2 separate regions of the Homo sapiens genome follow, and region 1 is linked to region 2. Evidence: promoter capture Hi-C in human tissues and cell types (Jung and others, 2019). All regions are on one chromosome and are shown on one strand. Each heading gives the region's core, a stretch centred on a gene start or on the middle of the fragment in contact. The rest is flanking DNA. Distances are from core to core; before and after follow the strand shown. Region 1 overlaps KCNK10 (potassium two pore domain channel subfamily K member 10). Region 2 holds the start of GPR65 (G protein-coupled receptor 65).

Evidence for each region. The method cuts DNA at HindIII sites, captures the fragments that hold promoters and counts their contacts. A contact is called where the count stands out against the background at its distance.
Region 1: a contact is called between a fragment that was not itself captured here and the fragment with the promoter of GPR65 in region 2, in 2 of the 25 tissues and cell types used here (H1 embryonic stem cells and mesendoderm cells).

Annotation. Positions count from the first base shown.
Region 1 is chr14:88,220,905-88,224,834 of GRCh38, forward strand. The region is part of intron 4 of KCNK10 (potassium two pore domain channel subfamily K member 10); the gene reads right to left. Among named protein-coding and RNA genes, the nearest start is that of KCNK10-AS1, 62 kb to the left of the region's middle. The HindIII fragment of the contact is 3,416 bases long and covers 317-3,732 here.
Region 2 is chr14:88,003,372-88,007,560 of GRCh38, forward strand. It overlaps GPR65 (G protein-coupled receptor 65), which reads left to right and starts at 1,764. Exons shown (of 2, transcript NM_003608.4): 1 at 1,764-1,851. RefSeq lists enhancers at 2,179-2,348, 3,149-3,208. The HindIII fragment of the contact is 6,432 bases long and covers 1-4,189 here.

The DNA.
Region 1 (3,930 bases), core at 775-3,274, 220 kb after region 2:
AGAGAATGAAAAGATAACCCACAGATTGGGAGAAAATATTTGCAAAGGATATACTAGATAAAAAATGCAAAGGATATACTTGATAAAGGAATATAATTCAAAATATATAAAATATGGCCAGGCACAGTGGCTCATGCCTGTAATCCCAGCACTCTGGGAGACCGAGGCAGGTGGATCACCTGAGGTCAGGAGTTCAAGACCAGCTTGGCCAACAAAGTGAAACCCCATCTCTACTAAAAATACAAAAATTAGCCAGGCATGGTGGTGCATGCCTGTAATCCCAGCTACTTGGGAGGCTGAGGCAGAAGAATCACTTGAACCTGGGAGGCAGAGGTTGCAGTGAGCCAAGATCATACCACTGCACTCCAGCCTGGGTGACAGAGTGAGACTCTGTCTCAATAATAATAATAATAATAATAATAATACATTACACATTATACATTAAATCTCAACAATAAAGAAACAAATAGCTCAATTAAAAAATAGGCCAAAGACTTTAACAGACACTTCACCAAAGAAGATATACAGATGGCAAGTAAGCATCTGAAAAGATGCTCCACATTATACATCATCAGAGAAATGCAAATTAAAGCAAGATACCACTACACACTTAGAATTGAGAAAATTCAGAACACCGACAACAGCAAATGCTGATGAGGATGTGGAGCAACAGGAACTGTCATTCATTGCTGGTGGAAGTACAAAATTGTATAGCCACTTTGGAAGACAGTGTGGCAATTTCTTATACACCTAAGCATATTCTTACCATCCAATCCAGTCATCACACATCTTTGTATTTAACTAAAGGAGTTGAAAACTAATGTTCAACCAAAAAACCTGTGCACAGAGGTTTATATCAGCTTTATTCGTAATTACCAAAACTTAGAAGCAAACAAGATGTCCTTCAGTAGGTGAATGGATACATAAACTATGGTACACCCAGAAAATGGAATATTATTCACCACCCAGCAGAAATGGACTACAAGCCATGAAAAGACATAGAGGAAACTTTTATCCATATTTAAGTGAAATAAGCCAGTCTGAAAAGGCTACATACAGTATGATTGCAACTACACAACTGTATAAGTCCGTTTTCACGCTGCTGATAAAGACATATCTGAAACTGGGAACAAAAAGAGGCTTAATTGGACTTACAGTTCCACATGGCTGGGGAGGCCTCAGAGTCATGGTGGGAGGTGAAAGGTATTTCTTACATGGTGGCAGCAAGAGAAAAATGAGGAAGAAGCAAAAGCAGAAACCCCTGATAAGCCTATCAAATCTCGTGAGGCTTATTCACTATCATGAGAATAGCACAGGAAAGACTGGCCCCCATGATTCAACTACCTCCCCCTGGGTCCCTCCCACAACACATGGGAATTCTGGGAGATATAAGTTGAGATTTGGGTGGGGACACAGCCAAACCATATTAATGACATTCTGGAAAAGACAAAACTAATAAAAACATGAGTCATTGTCAAAGGTTAGGAGAACGGGATTGATGAACAAGCAGGGTACAGAGGATTTTTAGGAGAGTGAAATACTATGTATGATACTATAATGGTAGACGCATGTCATTATAAATTTGTCCAAATTCATAGACTCTACAACACCAAGAGTGAACCCTAATGTAAACTATGGACTCTAGGTGATAATGATGCATCAATGTAGGTTCATAAATTGTAACAAATGTACCAGTCTGGTGCGGGATGTTGATAATGAGGGAGACTGCACATGTGTGTAGGGGCAAGGGGATATGGGATATCTCTGTATCTTCCCCTCCATTTTGCTGTGAATATGCAACTGCTCTAAAAAAAGATAAATTTTAAGGGAGTTCCTTTTGTATTTCCTGATATGAGGTTGGGTGAAAACGTGCTATTTGGTCATGAAGCAGCCATCTTGCAATGTGAGTGACAAGTCTGAGGATGAAGAGCTACCATGCCAAGGAAAACAGAGCAGAAAGAGGTAACAAATCTGGATACACCTGACATTGTGGAGCTGATAGCACAAGCCTGAGTCAACGTACCTCCAGGCTTCTTGCTATGTGAGATAAGGGTTCAAATTCTTAACCCATTGTTAATGAGTGTTGGGAGTATGAAAATTGTCAGAATCAAAATGGGGTTACTTGTGCTTAAAACTCTGACAAACAGAGTCAGGGAAAGCCAGGAAGGAAGGATTCTCATGCACAAATGCCTGATTACAAGAGCTATCATAAAAGACTGCAAAAACTACAACCTTGCACAAAACCCATCACCTCGTTATGCAGAAAAGCATTTCTGCGAAGACATCTACCCAGCAACTGACTGTCCAACCTTGGACTGGCATCACCCTTGTTATTGATCCTTGTATTCAAGGATAATTAGCTCAAAACAATTATGTAATCCTGTTCATTTTTCCTTTAAAAACCTTTTTTTTTTTTTTTTGCTTTACCTCCCTGAATGCACACATAGTTTAAACTGGCATGTATGTTACCACTGCAATGCCCATCCCTGAGTAAATATCATTTTCTTTCAATGAGCCTCTGTCTGTATGTTATTTAGGGTGACATAAATGGTGTCAGAAGTGGGATCAAAGTGAGTGCACCTCAGAGGAATGAGAGGTCCCTGGAACTGAGTGCAGTACTGACTGAGCCCTTTCTGCTCTCTGCTTCTGTCTGTTGCCTCTTCTGTCTGGGTGACTCTCCTCTCAGATTCTCAGACTCCCTCCCTTTGGCGAGTTCTTTTTGACTTTATATGTGATTTGATTTGGCTAAAAGGTGCCTTAAGTAAAGAACTTTGCATCCCTCTTGGGTCTGTAAAAGGCGTTTTTGTTTGTTTGTTTGTTGGCAAGCACTTTCTGGTAGAAAAGTATCCTTCTGCATTGAGTACTCTGGTTTCTACAGAATTTACATTCTGTCTTAGTGGCATGTCTTTTCTGGTGAATTCACTTTTGGTTCTTTCTTTACATCTAGTTTAATATGTTATTTGGTCTGTACACCCGGCTTAAAAAAATGTGTGTGGCTGGGCGTGGTGGCTCACGCCTGTAATCCCAGCACTCTGGGAGGCCAAGGAGGGCAGATCACCTGAGGCCAGGAGTTCCAGACTAGCCTTGCCAACACAGTGAAATCCCATCTCCACTTAAAAAAAAAAAAAAAGAAAATTGTGAGCATTCTTATTTTAGTTTCATTTGGGTTTGGTTATGCACATCTGCAAATAATTTGGCACCTTTACTTTTACCTTTCCTTTGTTTCTGAACATCATCTGAGAGCAAAATTAAACATTTTAAGTGGTGGTGCAAGAAGGCCATTTAAAAGTGTTGTTTTAAGCTTCTATGATTGTAGTCATATGTTACACAGCAATAGAAAAACTAATGCAGCAGCAAGGTCCTAATTCAGGGTAAAGTGACTGTAAGCCCTTTCGGAAACAAAGCTAAAGCTATATTCTCTGATCAGCTTATAAGCAATAAAGCTGGCAATTTGATCTCCATCTGACTCCTCCATTTCACAGTTAGTTCTGAACTCCAGAGGAGAAGAATTCTTATTTATTCATGTCATAAAAACTCCAATAGTCAGGCATTTTATTATTCTGCAACCAAAAGCATTTCTAAGTAATCCAATATCCCTCAGCAATTCTTTAAAATGAGGATCAGACCTGGGATGTGTTGGAAGGACCCAAAACAGGGTCACCTCAGGATTCAGGCATCTTGAAGACCAACTTTATATTTACTTTATTTATTGATTGATTGATTAATACAGGGGCTCACCCTGTCACCCAGGTTGGAGTGCAGTGGCACGATCTCAACTCACTGCAACCTCCACCTCCTGGGTTCAAGCAATTCTAATGCCTCCGCCTCCCAAGTAGCTGGGATTACAGGCATGCACCACCGTGCCCTGCAAATTTTTGTATTTTTAGTACTGACAGGGTTTCACCATCTTGGCCAGGATGGTCTTGAACT
Region 2 (4,189 bases), core at 514-3,013:
AAGCTGGTAAATTTCTTATTGTGTAGAGTTGGCAAGGTTTTAGCATAGGTCAGCTCCAGCTTTTTCTCCTCTTTAATCAGAAGTGAAAGTTTGTGTTTCTTATGTTTCTTAATGATAATCTTTTTCTTTTGAAAAGCAAAATACATGAATATTAGATATGGACATGAAAATACCCTTTCCCTAAAAGCAGAAGTATAGTCTATTCAGATAAAGTAAGAGATCATCAGAGTAATGAAATACCTACGTAACAATGCACTTGTACCCCGAACTTAAAAAAAGATATATCATGTATAGAAACCACAGATAAGCAGATGTACGAAACCAAGCAAAAATGAGAACTTTGAATTACAGTCACAAGTAAACTGAAATCGTTACTTTTCATTTTTGTAAAACTTCAAGACATTTATTGTTAATTTTTTACTTTATACTTAATTTTTATTATTTCAGTAACAATATATTGATTTATAATTTACTATATGCTAAATTACTTTATAAACTATCCTGTGCTTTATAAATGTAAGGTATTAGTTTTATTATTCTCAAAGAAAGACCTACAACGGAAGTATTGAAAATCTTTACATTCCTGATATACCCTGATCAACTTCAATATGGAAAGCCTTGCTTATATACAGGCTAATCTTTTCTATCTCTGGGTAGGGAGAAAAAAACAACAAAAAAAAAACACCAGCAACAACCCTTAATGTCCTTTAACAAACACAGATTCAAAATGTCCTGATTACATCTTTAAAATTAAGTCAAATGTTTTCATCCCAAATAAATTCTGTTCTTTCAAATAATATTTTCCCTTCATTTCTAATAAAAGTTTATGAGGGCAAGATTCAAAAGTGATATTTCTGACTTTTTTATATATCAATAGTAAGAAAGTTATAGGAGCTAATTTCACTTCATATTAAACCACTTATAGATTTGGCATTAACTTTAACTTGCTAAAGTACAAGAGTTTTTATAATAACAATGTAAGTCTTAAATAAAATTTTCAAGTTTCATAAAATTATTTGTCTCAGCTAGTTAATTCAACTGGTTTTTAGCCATCTCTGTTTCCAAGAGGAGAGAATCAAAGGAGAAAATAGTTCTACAATCAAATACTATATATCTAATCCCATTAGTCTCTCAAAAAAAAAAAGAAAAGAAAGACGGTATGAGGTTGGCTACCTTAACCCCTGCCTTAAGCAGCACAATATCCATCATTAAACCCCTCAGCCTCAATTCTCCCTTTTCTGTTTTTGTCCCAGGAACTTTATCACCCTGAATCTACCTACAATATCCTCCCCTATCTCACACATCCAAATGGTTCATTCTATTTTATCTGTACCCCTCTTGAAGTACTTCTTCATTTTGCCATTGCATTACAATCATTATTAAACATGTCTTTCTCCTTTACTAGGTAAAAAAAGCTGCTTTTGGTTGATAGCCAGTTCGTATACATCTCCCCGCACACTGCTGGCATGATGAGTGAATGAATGAATGAATGAATGAATGAACAAAGAAATAAATAAAATATTTAACATATATTCCATTAAGTAAAGGGCATATAATATAATATCAGTACATACTTGTAATTAAGATGCAATGAGACAAGTGAGTTATAAAAATTACAGTACAGTAAACAATAAATAAAAACATCTTTAAAAGTATTTAAGAGACTTTTTTTGTTCAAACTTGGATAACGCACACCCTTCTCATTGAGATGCTGCTTCCTCATTGGTTTGTGCTGAAATATGAGTGCAATTTCCTGTCCCCTCAGCAGTGTTGGTTTCTCTTCTTGACTTGATGCAGGCACAGATTTATCAAGCTCCTCAGTCAACAAACACATCACCGGAAGAAATATGGGTAAGTATAAGATTAAAAAATAAAATAATATTTTAAAGTAGATAACATGCTTTGGCATAATTGTCAGTGATGTTCGCAACATTCTTCCTGGTTTAGGCTGTATAAATGTGGTAATGCAAAGCATGATAAGAGAGAAAGAAATGAGGAAGACACATGGTTTCCTCTACTTTGAGCAGTGGTAAAGGGCCAAACTTTAAATTTAGAACTAATTAGGCAAAACCATAGATATAGAAAAAGGGGGTTGTTCATACTTTATTTTCTTTTCAGGAAACAGTGCTTTGGCAAACTTCATTCAGTATTAGGAAGAAGCCTACCAGCCCCTGGCTTTAGAGCTATCTGGCACCAATCCCTCATCTGTACAATGGTCCAGTAAATACTTTTTATATCCATCAGAAAAAAATGTGATATTAGGAAAGAATATTTCCAGTATTAATAAATGTCAAGTAATAATTATTAGTTAATAAGTGACTACCACAGTGCCTGAAATATATAGTAGAGTCTTAATAAGTAACTATTAAACTGATAGATGAAAGCAAGCATTTTCTATAACACTGTAGGAAAATATTGTACTTTTGGTCATCGTCATCAATGATTTGTACTATTTTTAGATCTGTTCAAGAATAGATATACTTTAATATACTGTAGATTGTCTTTTTTGACATCTGGTAAAAATTAAAAAATTAAAAACTCACCAAAATTTCTCAGTGCTTGTTCTAAAAACAATTTTCTCAAAATTTGATTAAAGGAGGCAAAATAATATCTGAAAAGATATGTGAATACTGTAATAGGAATTATATACAGTATTCCACTAAAATCTCAGATCCACCCAAATTAAATGAACAACTATTATCTGCAGAGCCTAGTATTATACGTGAAGTGTTACCATATAAATTACACTCTGAGCACCTCCAGCTTTTCTGCTATGCTGTGGCTAGATGACTAAAGATGATTTCTTTTCAGAAAATGTAGGGGACAGCACAAAGATTGGTGCAGACTACCAATGTCATTAAAACAATATTACCAGCTAACGTACAGTGAATGCCTCCCATGTGCTAGGAACTTTGCTTCATATGTCGTTTCATTTAACCCTCACAACAATCTTAGAAACTGGGTACTAACTTACACATGTGAAAACTGGAACTTAGAGAGGTGAAGAAACACCAATGGGCCCAGAGTGCTGTTGAGAGGCATTCGAATTGTCTCCAGAGCCCACGCTCTTAACCACAAGCCTGTACTGCCTCTGCGTCACTACAAAGAAGAGGGCCTCTGCTTCATCAACCCATCCTGTCTTGTGGTTAAGTCAAGGCAGGAAATGCTTTTACAGCTAGAGAAATGTATTCCATTGAAAACTTTATAAACCTTTCTAAAAATCATTTTTTCATTTAATCTGTCATACCATTTTTAAAGAAAATGATGACTATCTATTGAGTAACACGGACAAAGGAGGAAGAGGCACATGCTGCCCATTACCCGACTTTCTCGGTCCTGGTCTTAAGGGGAGGATGTTTTCATGGTTCAGGTGTTCTTCCCAAGACACATGAGCCTGGTGTTGGACGTGTTGTGTGTGCATCAGAGTCCCATCCGCGGGGGCTGATTCAATCTTCCTGCATCGCAGACATTACCCTAGTGTCCTTTTCCTACTTCAGTTATATCCTTTAGAAGTTTCTTTAGTGGGGATTTTGGATGTAAATGTTCTGAGTGGTAGTTTACCTGAAAATGTCCTAATTCTTGCTCTGGTCCTTGAAATTTAGTTCTGTTGAGTATATAATTATAGGATGACATATATTTTCTTAGCAATTTGGAACTTTTAATCTTCTGCTGTCTGTTATCGCTGTTGAGAAGTCTTTTGTCCGTCTAAATTCCATCCTTCATAGGTAGTCCATCTTTCCTCTCTGGCTCTTTTTTCCTTAGTCTTTGGTGAACTGCAATTTTATTGCAATGTGTCTAAGTATAGGTTTCCATTTTTGTGTTTTTAATCCTATTTGGGATTTTCTAAGCTTCATAAATCTGCAGATTTCATGAGGATTGAAGATGCATGAGGATTCTTCATCCATCCTCAAGATTCCTTCATCAGTTCTAGAAAGCTCATCATCTTTGTGAATATTGCCTTTTCAACATTCTCTCTTTTCGATCTTTATGGAATTCCAATTATGTATATGCCACCCTTTTCACCTTTTCTCCATATCTCTTATATTTTCCCATGTCCTTAACATGCTGATAATTTTGTGTTATTTCTTTATCTCTATCTTGCAATATACAAATTTTCTCTTCAGCTGGATCTAATCAGTTGGTTACTCCCTGTGTTTATTTTTAAATTTAAATTATTATTATTTTTATT